Linked DNA regions of Homo sapiens: regions 1 and 2 are each linked to region 3. The links are contacts of gene promoters, found by promoter capture Hi-C in blood cells and fetal thymus (Javierre and others, 2016). All regions are on one chromosome and are shown on one strand. The core of a region is centred on a gene start or on the middle of the fragment in contact, and the rest is flanking DNA. Distances in the headings are between cores, read along the strand shown.

What was found. Contacts are between HindIII fragments. The CHiCAGO score rates a contact against its expected background, and 5 or more counts as called.
Region 1: a fragment that was not itself captured here is called in contact with the fragment with the promoter of MTSS1 in region 3 in 2 of 17 cell types (erythroblasts and M0 macrophages); the score reaches 6.0 in erythroblasts.
Region 2: a contact is called between a fragment that was not itself captured here and the fragment with the promoter of MTSS1 in region 3, in 2 of 17 cell types (naive B cells and megakaryocytes). The highest score is 6.6, in naive B cells.

The regions. Positions count from the first base shown.
Region 1 is chr8:125,012,663-125,017,311 of GRCh38, reverse strand. The region is part of intron 7 of SQLE (squalene epoxidase); the gene reads right to left. Among named protein-coding and RNA genes, the nearest start is that of SQLE, 16 kb to the right of the region's middle. The HindIII fragment of the contact is 771 bases long and covers 969-1,739 here.
Region 2 is chr8:125,031,992-125,036,649 of GRCh38, reverse strand. It overlaps WASHC5 (WASH complex subunit 5), which reads left to right. Exons shown (of 29, transcript NM_014846.4): 27 at 4,256-4,409. Among named protein-coding and RNA genes, the nearest start is that of WASHC5-AS1, 6.4 kb to the left of the region's middle. RefSeq lists an enhancer at 3,857-4,658. The HindIII fragment of the contact is 917 bases long and covers 849-1,765 here.
Region 3 is chr8:124,726,636-124,731,001 of GRCh38, reverse strand. MTSS1 (MTSS I-BAR domain containing 1) reads left to right here and starts at 2,529. Exons shown (of 14, transcript NM_014751.6): 1 at 2,529-3,118. The coding sequence starts at 3,047. LOC105375741 (a long non-coding RNA gene) reads right to left here and starts at 2,463. Exons shown (of 3, transcript XR_002956670.2): 1 at 936-2,463. The HindIII fragment of the contact is 14,334 bases long and covers 1-4,366 here.

The sequences.
Region 1 (4,649 bases), core at 105-2,604, 290 kb before region 3:
TCAGCTGCAGTAGAATAGAGCACCAAGTAGATTCCTAAGTTTCCCAACTCCAGGCCCTGGCTCCCAGACAGCATTTCTGGACCAGTCCTGGGCCCCCAGGAGCTCACTGCCCTCAAGGGAAGGGCACAAGCCTGGCTGGATTTGTGCTGACTGTAGAGCTCTTGAGTCTTGAGGGAACATCAGCGGTGACCAGGCAGTCATCACCACAAGCCTTTCACCAATACCCAGTGCTGTACTGGCTTCAGGTCTGACTCAGCACACGCCAGTCATGGTGGCCACAGGCATACCTGTGTCACCCGTCCCCCACAGCTCCAGGCAGCTCAACAAAGAAGGACAGACTCTGTTTGGGGGAAAGTAAGGGAAGAGAACCAAGAGTTCTTTTCCTGATAATCCAGGGAATTCTCCCAGATATTACCCAAGACCACCAAGGCGGTACCTCTACAAGTCTGCAAGGGTCACAATGTTACTGGACTTGGGGTGCCCCTTAATACAGATACGGCTGCTATGACCAAAGACTTAGATCACAACACTCACTTCCCTTTGAATACTTCAAAAGCGTTCCCAAGAAAGATGGGTACAAACAAGCCCAGACTCCGAAGACCACAATAAATACCTAACTCATCAATGCCCAGACATTGGTGAACATCCACAGTCATCAAAACCATCCAGGAAAACATGAACTCACTAAATTAACAATAATAAATAAGGCACCAGTGACCAATCCCAGAGTAACAGAGATGTGAGCTTTCAGAGAATTCAAAATAGCTGTTTTGGAGAAGCTCAACAAAATTCAAGACAACACAGAGAAGGAACTCAGAATGCTATCAGGTAAGTTTAACAAAACAACTGAAATAATTTAAAAGAATCAAGCAGAAATTCTGGAGATAAAAAATTCAATTAACTTACTGAAGAACATGGCAGAATCTCAACAGTAGAACTGATCAAGCAGAAGAAAGAATTAGTAAGCTTGAAAACAGGCTATTTGAAAATACACAGAGGAGACAAAAGAAAAAAGAATAATCAAGAATGAGGCACACCTACAAGATCTAGAAAATAATTTCAAAAGAGCAAATCTAAGTTCTTGGCCTTTAAAAGGAGATAGAAAGATGAGGGTAGAAAGTTTATTTGAAGAAAAAATAACAGAGAACTTCCCAAATCTAGAGAAAGATATCAATATTCAAGCACAAGAAAGCTACAGAACACCAAGCAAGGATTGGTGATTGATTTAATCCAAACAAGACTAGTTCAAGCCATTTAATAATCAAACTCCCAAAGGTCAAGGATATAGAAAAGATCCTAAGAGCAACAAGAGAAAGGAAACAACAAACAATGGAGCTCTAGTATGTCTGGCAGTAGACTTAGTGGAAATCTTACAGGCCAGGAGAGAGGGGCAAGACACACTGAAAGTGCTGAAGGAAAAGAACTTTTATGCTACAATAGTATATCCAGTGAAAATATCCTTCAAACATGAAGGAGAAATAAAGACTTTCCCAGACAAACAAAAGCCGAGGGACTTCATCAACACCAAACTTTCCCACAAGAAATGCCGAAGTGAGTTCTTCAATCTAAAAGAAAAGGACCTTAACGAGCAGTAAGCAATTACATGAAGGTACAAAACTCACAAAAGTTAAAAAGCAAGGAGGATAAAGTGTAGAGTTTTTATTAGTTTTCTCTGCTCGTTTGTGGAATCAGTTGTCATCAGTTTAAAATAATCGGTTATAAGATATGACCTGCAAGCTTCCTGGTAATTTCAAATCAAAAGCCTACAAGAGGTAGGCAAAAAAATTAAAAGCAAGAAATTAAAACATACTACCAGAGAAAATTACCTTCACAGAAAGGAAACAGGACGGAAGAAAAGACAGCAAAACAATCAGAAAACAAAAACAAAATGGCAATAGTACGCACTTACCAATAATAACATTCAATGTAGATGGACTAAACTCCACTCGAAAGGCGTAAGTGGCTGAATGGATTTAAAAAAAGAACCAACGATCTGCTGCCTAAAATAAACACACTTCACCTATAAAGCCACAAAGAGACTGAAAATGAAGGGATGGAAAAAGATATTCCATGCAAATGGAAACCAAAAAAGAGCATAGTGATATTTACATCAGTAAAATAGATTTCAAGACAAAAACTATAAAAAGAGGCAAAGAAGGTCATTAGATAATGATAAAGGGGTCAATTCAGCAAGAGGATGTAACAATTACATATGCACCCAATACCGGAGCACTCAGATATATAAAGGAAATATTATTAGAGCTAAGGAGACAGACCCCAATACAATCATGGCTGGAGACTTCAACACCCCACCTTCAGCACTGAATAGATCATCCAGACAGATAAACAACAAACATCAGACTTAATCTGGACTACAGGCCAAACAGACCTAACAAATATTCACAGAACATTTCATCCAACAACTGCAGAATACACATTCTTCTCCTCAGCAAATCGATCATTCACAAGGATAGATCATGGGTAGGCCACAAAACAAGGCTTAAAAAATTCAAAAAACAATTGAAATCATATCAAGTATCTTCTCTGACCACAGTGGAATAAAACTAGAAATCAGTACTATGAGGAACTTTGGAGACTGTGTATACAAACACATGGAAATTAAACCACATGCTCTTGAATGACCAGTGGGTCAATGAAGAAATTAAGAAGTAAATATAAAAATTTCTTGATAGAAATAAAAATGCAAAGACAATATATAAAACCTGTGAGACACAGCAAAAGCAATACTTAAAGGGAAAGTTTTTAGCAGTAAGTGCCTACATCAAAAAAGCAGGAAAACATCAAATAAACAACCTAACAGTGCATCTCAACCAGAAAAGCAAGAGCAAACCAAACCCCAAATTAGTAGAAAATAATAAAGATCAGAGCCAAAATAAATGAAATGAAAAAAATACAAAAGATAACAAAATGAAAAGTTGGTTCTTTGAAAAGATAAAATCAGCAAACCTTTAAGACAAACTAAGAAAAAAGAAAGAAAACCCAATTAACTCCTTTTCCTGTTCCTATGTCAGCAAATGGCTGGCAAAACTATCTAAGCCAGAAACCTGGAATTTACATCAAGAGATTTCACTCTCATTATAATATCCAAATCATCACGTTTTTTACATTCTACATCCTAGATATTACCCAAATTTATTCATTACCTTTCATTTTACAACCCTAGTTCTGGCCTTTTATCATCATTGACAGAATAATTAATCTTAGTGTATGTTTTACTAGACTTTCCTCCAAACCATCCTCCACAAAAATGTCAGAGTATATTCCTGAAATAAAAGTCTAATCATGCCACTGCCTCTTTAAGAAAATTCCATTTACAAAAGTATCAAAAAAGGTAAAATACTTAGGAATAAATTTAACAAAAGAAATGCAAAACTTATACTCTGAAAACTACAAAATATTGTTGAAAGAAACCCTTACCTTTCAGTCAAGGGAATTTTGACCACAAGGGCAAGAAAATTCACTGGGGAACAAACAGTCTTTTCAACAAATGATACTGGGACAACTGAATATCCACACACAAACAAATCAAGCTGGACCCCTTCCTCTCAACAGACACAAAATTTAACTCAAAATGGATCAAAGAGCTAAATTTAAGAGGTAAAACTATAAAACTCTTAGAAGAAAATATAGGAGTAACAGGCCAGGCATGGTGGCTCATGCCTGTAATCCCAGGACTTTGGGAGGCTGAGGTGGGTGGATCACCTGAGGTCAGGAGTTTGAGACCAGCCTGGCCAACATGGCGAAACCCCGTCTCTACTAAAAATACAAAAATTAGCTGGGCACGGTGGCGAGCACCTATAATCCCAGCTACTCGGGAGGCTGAGGCAGGAGAATTGCTTGAACCTGGGAGGCCGAGGTTGCAATGAGCCGAGATCGCACCATCGCACTCCAGCCTAGGCGACAAGAGCGAAACTCCATCTCAAAAAAAAAAAAAGAAAAAGAAAACATAGGAGTAAATCTTTTTGAACTTAGATTGGACAAAGCCTTCCTAAATATGACATCAAAAGCACAAGCAACGAAAGAAAAAATAAACATGAAAATTTAAACCATGTGTACTTCAATGGAAACCATTAAGAAGAATGGAAAGAAAACCCACAGAATGAGAAAAATTTTGCAAATCACATATCTAATAAGGGACTTGTACCTAAAATATATAAAGGACTCTTGAAACTCAACAATACATAAATTTTAAATCTGCCCAATTAAAAAAATATGCAAAGTCTAAATATACATTTCTCCAAACAACAAATGGCCTATATGCATATGAAAAGATGTTCAACATCATTATCTATGAGAGAAATGCAAATCAGCACAATGATAAAAGGCCTAGTTCACACTACTAGGATGGCTATGCACACAAAGATAATACAAGTGTTCACTGACAAGGATGTGGAGAAATTAGAACTCACACACTGCTGAAAGGAATGTAACTGGGACAGCTATTTTGGAAAACAAGTCTAGCAGCTCCTCAAAAAGTTAAACGTGAACTACTATGTAATCCAGCAATATCACTCTTGGGTATATAACCAAGAAAAATGAAAATATATGTCCACACAAAAACTCGCACACAGATGTTCATAGCAGCATTGCTTGTAATAACCAAAAAGTAGAAACAACCCAAATATCTA
Region 2 (4,658 bases), core at 58-2,557, 310 kb before region 3:
CTCAGATGGGAGTACAGTGGCACAATCTCAGCTCACTATGGCCTTGACCTCTCGTGCTCAAGAATCCTTCCACCTCAGCCTCCTGAGTAGCTGGGACTATAGGTGCACACCGCCATGCCCAGCTAATTTTTTTGTATTTTTTGTAGCAACAGGGTTTTGCCATGTTGCCGAGACTGGTTTCAAACTCCTAGGCTCAAGCGATCCACCTGCCTCGGCAACTAAAGGGCTGAGATTACAGGCGTGAGCCATTGTGCCCAGCCCTAGACAGTGGATTTAAAATCAACAAAGTATGGTCTACCTCAGTAAGGGTTCATTGTCCAGCTTGTAGAATGTGAGGGACCTTTGTTTTGATTCTCTTCTTTAATGTTTAGGCAGCTAATTGTGGTGTGAAAGAAACTTTTTTTGGTTGATGTTCTGTTCTTTCAACAGGATGCATGTGCCAGCTGTGTATCTGGAACCATGATGGGAAAAGTAACAATATAGTTAAGGAGATAAGACTAATATTTATACATGAACATTTAATACTTTATGTATGATTGTATGTCAGAATATTCTGTACAAACAAGAGACACCAAAGCCTTTCAATATGTCTGTTCTCTCCAGGAATATAACCCTAATTTATTTTTGTCATTCGTCAGAATATTTTTGTAGTTACATAATAGATAACAAAGTGTTTCCTCTGCCTTCAAACTTTGTATCCAGCTAAATGACATTTTTAAAAATCCACTATAGACTTTAGTTTACTTTAAAAGCATTATAAGAGCATTTCTACAAATGTAATCATTGTTTCTTAACTAGAGATTCCTAAATATATTTCTTCCTTACAGTACTTTCCTATTTCATAAGCTTTTTTAGGGTGAAAATGTGGAATCTCTTTAATGTTTTTATTCTCTCATTCAAAAGTAATCATTGATTCTAGACACTGCTTCCATGACAATGCCTGTGATTGTCACAGAAGGCAGAGCATGATCTCCTCAAACAATACTTGCTGTAGGAGGGAGGGAACCAATGTGTGTTTGGAATCTGGCTTCACCACTTATCACCTATGTGACTTTGGCCAAGTCACCGCAAACTGAGTGCCCAACAGGTGCTGAGTCCCTTTCTATATATTGGTCAAAATCAATTTAAAGGGCCATCCCAAGTGTAATGTAAAGGTTCATCTGAAGATTCAGAGATTCATGTTCTCTCTCTGTTCTATGTTATTATTCAATAGGAATATATGATTCTTGATAATGAACTGTCAGTGCAGAAAGAACCTTCTTTTCATTAAAGAATAACTTTTTGTTGACTTCTCATTCTAATTTTTTTTTCATTGTGTATATGATTAGGGCCTGGCACCTTGATTGTAAAGCTGCTTATGGAAAGTATCACTCTCCCTGGAATTCCCAGATCTTAAAACATAACACAACAAAATCTTTATGTATCCTAGAAATGTGGTGTTTATAACTGACTATAATTCTTCTCATCAATAAGACTGATGTGTTAATGCAGGAACTAAATTACAGTAGGACTGAGGAAGGAACAATTGTTTGGTATCTTTGTGGGTATTCAGTTGCTCATATAAGGGTGAGACTATCTCTAGACTATTCTGTTCCATTGATGTGTTTGTCTTTTCTTATGCCAATAATGTCTTGATTATTGAAACTGTAAAGAGAGCCTTGAAACTGTATATCCGAAAAACATTTATTTAACCTTGTAAACACCGTTCTCAGCATTGGCCTATGAAATGCATACCTGGCTTGGTCTGTGTTTGAAGAAAGAAGCTTCGTGGTGTAGTGCTAGTTGTAGAAGTGTTTGTTGTTAACATCACTCTTGCTTTCCACCTGGAAAGGATTATTTCTCCATACTGAGTCCTGTTAGGATTCTTCCTCCATGTTCTGAATTGCCAAGGCCTAGGTTAGGTTATTCAGGATCACTTGTTTAGGCTTCTCTGGTTTGGGGAAGATTTTCCGGTCTTCACAAGAAGTCAAATATGGGACCTGAGGGTCTGTCTAACCAGTTAACTTGATAAGAAACTGCCAACCCTTTGTCCAAAGTGGTTGTGCCAGTTACACTCTCACCAAGAGTGAGTATATGTGTAGTCCACATCCTCGCCATTATTTGGTGGCGTCAGTCATTTTCATTTTAGCCATTCTTTTTTTTTTTCTGAAACAGAGTCTCACTCTGTCACCCAGGCTGAAGTGCAGTAGCGTAATCTCGGCCCACTGCAACCTCCACCTCCTGGGTTCAAGCAGTTCTGCCTCGGCCACCTGAGTAGCTGGAATTACAGGCTACAAGCATGCATCACCATGCTCGGGTAATTTTTGTATTGTTAGTAGAGACAGGTTTCACCATGTTGGCCAGGCTGGTCTCGAACTCCTGACCTCAAGTGTTCCACCCACCTTGGCCTCCCAAAGTGCCAAGATTACAGGCATAAGCCACTGAACCCAGCCCATTTTAGCCATCCTGATGGGTATCTATGGTATCTTGTTGCAGCTTTAATTTGCCTCCCTGATGATTAATGATTTTGAGCACTTTTTCATGTGCTTATTGGCCATTCCTTATATCCTTCTCTGCGAAGTGCCTGTTCTAGTCTTATGCTCGTTTTTAAATTTTTTTTTTATTACAGAGTTGTAGTAGTTATGTATATATTATGGATACAAGTTCCTTATTAGATATGTTTTGAGAATATTGTGACTTATCTATGTATTTTTTTACTGGTAACTTTAATGAGCAGAAGTTTTTACTGTTGATGGTGTCCAGTTTATCCATTTTTTTCCTTTATAATTATTCTTTTTTGTCTTGTCTAAGAAATCTCTGCCAGGCCAGGCACAGTGGCCCATGCCTGTAATCCCAGCATTTTGGGAGGCTGAGACGAGAGGATCACCTGAGGTCAGGAGTTTGAGACCAGCCTGGTCAACATAGTGAAACCCGTCTCTACTAAAAACACAAAAATTAGCCAGACGTGGTGGCACACGCCTGTAATCCCAGCTACTTGGGAGGCTGAGGCAGGAGAATCGCTAGAACCTGGGAGGCAGAGGTTGCAGTGAGCCGAGATTGTGCCACTGCCCTCCAGCCTAGGTGACATAGTGAGCTCCGTCTCAAAAAAAAAAAAAAGAAATCTCTGCCTTCTTCAAGGTCACAAAGATATCTTCGATATTTTTTCTTACAGTTCTGTAGTCTTTGCTTTTACATTGAGGCCAGTGGTTCATCTCTAATTGTTTTTTGTGTACAGTATGAGATAGGGGTCAAGGTTTGTCGTTCCCCCATAAGACTATCCAGTTTCAGTACCATTTGTTAAAAGATTTATCTTTTTTTATTATTTGGTATATTTGTGACTATTCAATTACTCATAGAAGGGTGGGACTATCTCTAGACTCTATTCTGTTCCATTGATCTATTTGTCTGTTCTTATGCCATAGTGTCTTAATTATTGAAACTGTATAGAGAGCTTGAAATCAGGCAACCTAAACCTTCCCAACACTGTTCTTTTTCAACATTGTGTTTCTTCTGGAAGACCCTAATCTCTGTCTCTGGTTTCCCATGCAGCCACCCAGGCAGAGGTCAGGGTCTCCACATTTTGGCAGAAATCTTTAGTGTAGAGCCAGGTGCAGTGGTACACACCTATAGTCCCAGCTTGAGCCCTGGAATTCAAGGCTATAATGTGCTGTGATTGCACCTGCGAATAGCCACTGCACTCCAGCCTGGGCAACATAGCAAGACCCCATCTCCAATTTTTAAAAAATCGTTAGTGTAAAGGCCAGCTTTGATACTCATTCACTTCATAAATATCCTTCTTCCACTCTCTTGATTTCTGCAGATTCTTTATGTATATATATTACTCAACATTTGTTTAAAGATACCCTAAAAGTATTTTATCCAGCTTTTCACTTAAGATAGTAGTTCAGGGTATCTAGTATGTCATGCTGCCGTTAACAGAAGTCAGTTGTAGTGATTTTTTTTCTCATTTACATTTATCTGTATCTTTAAAAATTGCTACAATAATATATGTTAATTGAGTAATTCAAAAGAACCAGTAATGATAATTACAAAATTTAGTAACCGTTTTATTGGTTTTGAATCCTTCAGACCCCTGGAATGCCCTACCAATCCTGTGGCTAATTCAAAATATGGCCCAGAATTGTCATTCCCTCCAAAATATCATCTGCCAGCGAGAATATGGGCCCCAAACATTTTGACCTTCACAGCGTTGGTATTTAATGAATGTTGCTGAAGGCAAGTACTTCATATGGTGTTGCAACTTGTTCCCTTGCAGGAATGGTCTGCCGAAAACCGACCGACCCGGTTGATTGGCCACCACTTGTCCTGGGACTGCTCACTCTGCTGAAGCAGTTCCATTCCCGGTACACCGAGCAGTTCCTGGCGCTGATTGGCCAGTTTATCTGCTCCACGGTGGAGCAGTGTACAAGGTACAGAAGACCAACCAGGACTACGTGGGACTTCTTGTCACAAAACCTAACTTAAACCTCACATTACCAAATTCCTCTTATCGCCCTAATAGAGATGGGAAATGGTTGCTCACCCTTCTCTGTAAAGCAAGTCAGGGCATACCTCCTTGTTTAGAGCAATTACAGGTGTGTCCATCCTTAGTCACCCTGCCAGGGGAACTCCATCCGGTCTACTCACATTGATTTTCCAGGAGTGACTCAGGACCATGA
Region 3 (4,366 bases), core at 1,280-3,779:
ACAAAAACGGGACACCCTATTGTCGCAGAGGCAGATTCTATAACCTGAAACCCCTCCTGCCATAGCCACGTAGACACAGTTGGTAAAATGTAATCAGAATCTCTTTAAATATATGCAGAGCCAGTCTAAAAGAAGGGAAGTCCCCAACAGCCAGAAACAAAGGAGAATCTGAAAACAAGGAAAGAATGTATGACAGCTGGCCAGGCACAATGGCTCACGCCTGTAATCCCAGTACTTTGGGAGGCCGAGGCGGGTAGATCATCTGAGGTCAGGAGTTCGAGACCAGCCTGACCAACATGGAGGCTGAGGCAGGAGAATCGCTTGAACCTGAGAGGTGGAGGTTGCAGTGAGCCGAGATCGCGCTACTGCTCTCCAGCCTGGGTGACAGAGTGAGGCCCTGTCTCAAAAAAAAAAAAAAAAAAAAAAAATTGCCAGGTGTCACTCCCACTTTCCTGCATCTGGGAACACTTTTCCAGCCTCCCTTTCAAGGAGTTCTCATGAGAGACAAGGGCCTGGTGGTCAGGCCCAGGGAAAAAGGCCACAAGAGAGGTATGCTTTGGCAAACATTGCTAAAGTTGGGGTATTTGGGGCATTGAAATTTAAGCATGTGGCAGGAAAGCTAGACCAAGTGTCCACTGGGCTAAGGCCCCTTATCCCAGGAGTTCAGGAGGCTGGGTAAAAGAGAGACCTGGGGCATGGAAGTCAGAAAACCAGGGTTGGATTCCTTCCAACAGTGCAACAAGGACCAGAATGATAATTTCCTTCAAGTAGACATAATACGTATAAAATGCCCAGAATGCACACAGTAGACCCTCAGCAATGTGCCTGGGACAGCACACCAATGTTACAGAAGTGAAATGGGGCCAGGGCTGGACCTGAGCCTTGGCCTCATCCCTGCTTCTTCTGTTGATAAGATTTATCGAATGATTACTTACGAGATGCCAGGTACCACTTGAAGTGCTTTCATCGATCAGCTCATGTAATGTTCAGAACAGCCCTATCAGGTAGAAGCCATCATTATCCCCATTTACAGATGGATGAGGAAACTGAGGCCCAGAAAGGTTAAGTAACATACCTAAAGGCATACAGTTAGTAGGTTGTGAACTGGAGTTTGAATCCAGGCAATCTGGCTCTACAAGCAGTCATCTTGATAGTTAGAATACCAATAGTATTAAAATCACAATAATGATTGGCAGCAAACGATGTGTCAAGCACCCGTTATTGGCAAGGTGAAGATGAGTCGGATGCATTCGAACGCCCTTGGGGACAGGATCCAGCAGGGGTGATCAAGAGATCAGTTACTTCCTGAAGGTAACACCCTTCCGGGTGATTTCGGGGAGACGGATGGGGAAGGTGGGTTGCAGTTAAGAGTTGGGCAGAGTGATCCAGGGGAACATTATCTTCTGCAGCTGTGCTGTGTAACTCCATGCATCCCTTTGATCCATAAAGTTTTCAAAGCCAGACCTTTTCCCATTACGGAGTGAATCTGACACAAGTGTACAGAATTTTGCACTTGGTTTCTTTTGGCCCCACTCCCCCCAGTCTTTTCTTTTGTTATGTTTTGTGCTTCAAATGGTTAGCTCAAGGGTTAAAGGAACTGTCCGGAGTTAGGTGCCTATGTCTTAATATCTTTTAAAAGTTGCTCATTTGATTCTCCTCCCTCTGGCCCATTTGGCGTTCATCTGAATGAGGGCTCCTGGTTATGCAGATAGGCAGTGGAGCTGTGAAAATGGACCACTAGGCCCCAAATCAACCTGGGCACATTTGCGCTCTGCAGGTTCAACCTCCCAGGAGGGCTCCCTGCGGTTATACCAACGCTGGCTGCTCTCAGTGGGCCTGAAAACCATCAACCGTCCAAGTCATAGGCAATCAGCAATCTCGATAGACTGATGGATCGTGGACAGAAGCTCTAACGCTGTTTCCATTCATTTAGCAACAGCAAATCAATCCACTTTCCCAGCATCCTGCAACTTTATCGAACTCGGCATCCCATTGCAGGATACGCCCCCGAACTCTCCTTAATTATATATTTCGCTATTTGCAATCAGGACTCGGCGATGCAGTCCTGACATCAGAGAATGGGCGTCTTCTCAGAAGGCCGCAGTAGCGGCAGCAGCTTTCCCGCCCTACTGAGCGCTCACTACAAGCGGGCTCTGGGCTAGGCGCGCCACCCGTGCAAGTCCCCGGGGAGCGGCGGTGCACCCTCCGTCCCGCGCGCTCGCAGCCATTGTAGGGGTGGGCGCTCGCCAGGCAGGGTGCCGACACGCCCTCTCCGCGCTGCGACGGGCGGCCGGGGGAGGAGAGGGTGCGCTGTGCGCACCGGAGGGAGAGGCTCCGGCCCAGCGCCGCCTGCCCGCCAGCAGACCAGCAGGCTCCTCTTTGCGGCGGGTGCCCCACGCGCCTCTCGGGCGCGCGCTCCCAGCCCCGCCCGCGTGCGGCGGCCGCACGGCCGCGAGAGCGCGCCTCCGCTTGGCGGGCACGGCCGCGAGCGCGCGTGCGCCCCTCCGAACGTCCCCGGGAGCCCAGCCAGAGCGAGCGCCGGGGCCGGGCGCGCAGGAGTGAAAAGGAGGCGGCGGCCGCAGCTGCGAGCAACAGATCCGGACGCCGCGAGCTGACCCGCTCTGCTGTTGGGCGATTTTTTTTTAATTGCAGAAAAATTTATTAAATTGGAAAATCTTGCGTTTTTCAATGGCGCTGGCCCCGGGTCAGCGGGCGATTTTCTCTGCATCAAGATGGGCTTTGCCGTTTCCGTAGTGGGCACCAGTGGTGGCCTGATTGTCAGTCTTCTCCCGGCATTTTTAAGGCCAGGAGCCGAGCGCTGCTTGTAGGCGAATACCCTACAGAGCGGTTTGGCTTTTTAAATTACTGTTATTATTTTGGGCAGAGAACAGTCGGTCTGGTGCACCCCGTCCTCGCTGCAGAAGAGGCTGCGAGTCCGAGGTGGGTCTCTCGGAAGGTGAAATTCCTTCTGGGGTGAGCGAGCCCCGGCCCCGCGCGCAGTCCAGCGGCCCCGCGTGTGTGCCCTCGCCCTGCCGGAGCCGGGAAAATGGAGGCTGTGATTGAGAAGGAATGCAGCGCGCTCGGAGGCCTCTTCCAGACCATCATCAGCGACATGAAGGTAGGACGCCGGGGGTGCGGCTGCGGCGCCGGCCGCCGCGCTCTGACCTCGCCGCCGCGCTTCGCCTCCACCCCGGGCCGGGCACCCGGCCCTTCCCTGCAGTGTGGCCACCGGCCACCTGCGGGAGCTCCCGGCCGGAGTGTCACCTGCTCACCCGGGGCGCTGCTCCGGGCTCTGCGGGGTCACTGGGCGGGTGGCTTCTCTGGGGGGTGTCTGCTGTCCCACGCCATCTCCCCCGCTCATTGTCCCAGGGGGCGGCACCATTTCTTTCCCTCGGGGGCTCAAGGCACTGGCTGCAAGTTTTCCCATTGTCTGTCCCTGAAGTAAGTGTCTGGGACCCGCGGGGGCTGGATGCCCGGGAGGACACCTGATTCCTCCGGGCACGGGGTGGGGGCGCCTGGCGCGGTGGTGGGGAGGAAGTGGGGGCTCTGCCCGCTCGCAGGAAGGAGTCCCCTAGCCTAGGAGACTGAGAGGGAAAGCCAGTCCCTCCTTGGCTGTCAGGTCTACTTGGAGTGGGGTATCTGAGCAAATTAGTTATTAATTGGGCCGTTCCGAAGCTGGTAAAGGTGTGCGTGCCCTCTCTTAGCCCTCCCGCGGGGCGCGGGGCCGAAGTTCCCGGGCAGCCTTGCAGGGGCCCCGCCTTCTCCCAGCTGAGCCTAAAGGCAAGATTGGGGCCCCCGAAATAACTGTATCCTGCCCTCCCAGACCCAAACGGACACACACTCTAGGTTTTCTCTTGGAAGGGTTGTGAAGATGGTGTGTGTGTGCGCGCGTGCATGTGTGTGTGCGCGCGCGCGCGTGGGGGCGGGGAACAACACCCTGGTTTTTTCCTGCAAAGGGTGGGACTGGGGATAACCTGATCCTCGGATGTGGATTTTCTGGTGCCTAGAGATAGACCAGGGCCCCGTGTTATTCATCCAGAGGAAATAAAACCAGCCGCGCGAGCTGGCTGGAGGTGGGAATTGGGAGCGGTGGGGGAAATTATTTTTTTAATGTGTATTTAGGGAGCTTCTCTTTGGCTCTGGCCCAGCCCCAGTTTGCCTCAACAGATCCAGATCCGGGGAGGTGGTGTTTAATTAAAAGCTCGCTTCCAAAACGAGTGGGCAGGTTTGGAAAGCTGTGCACCGAGTGGGTGTGGACAGCCCCTCTTCAGCCGCTGCCTGGGCGCCTGGAGGAGCTTTTGTCTGATGAAGTGTAAGGTTTAGAGAGGCTTCGTGCCTCGGAGATGGTCTTTGGGAAGGAATGCTC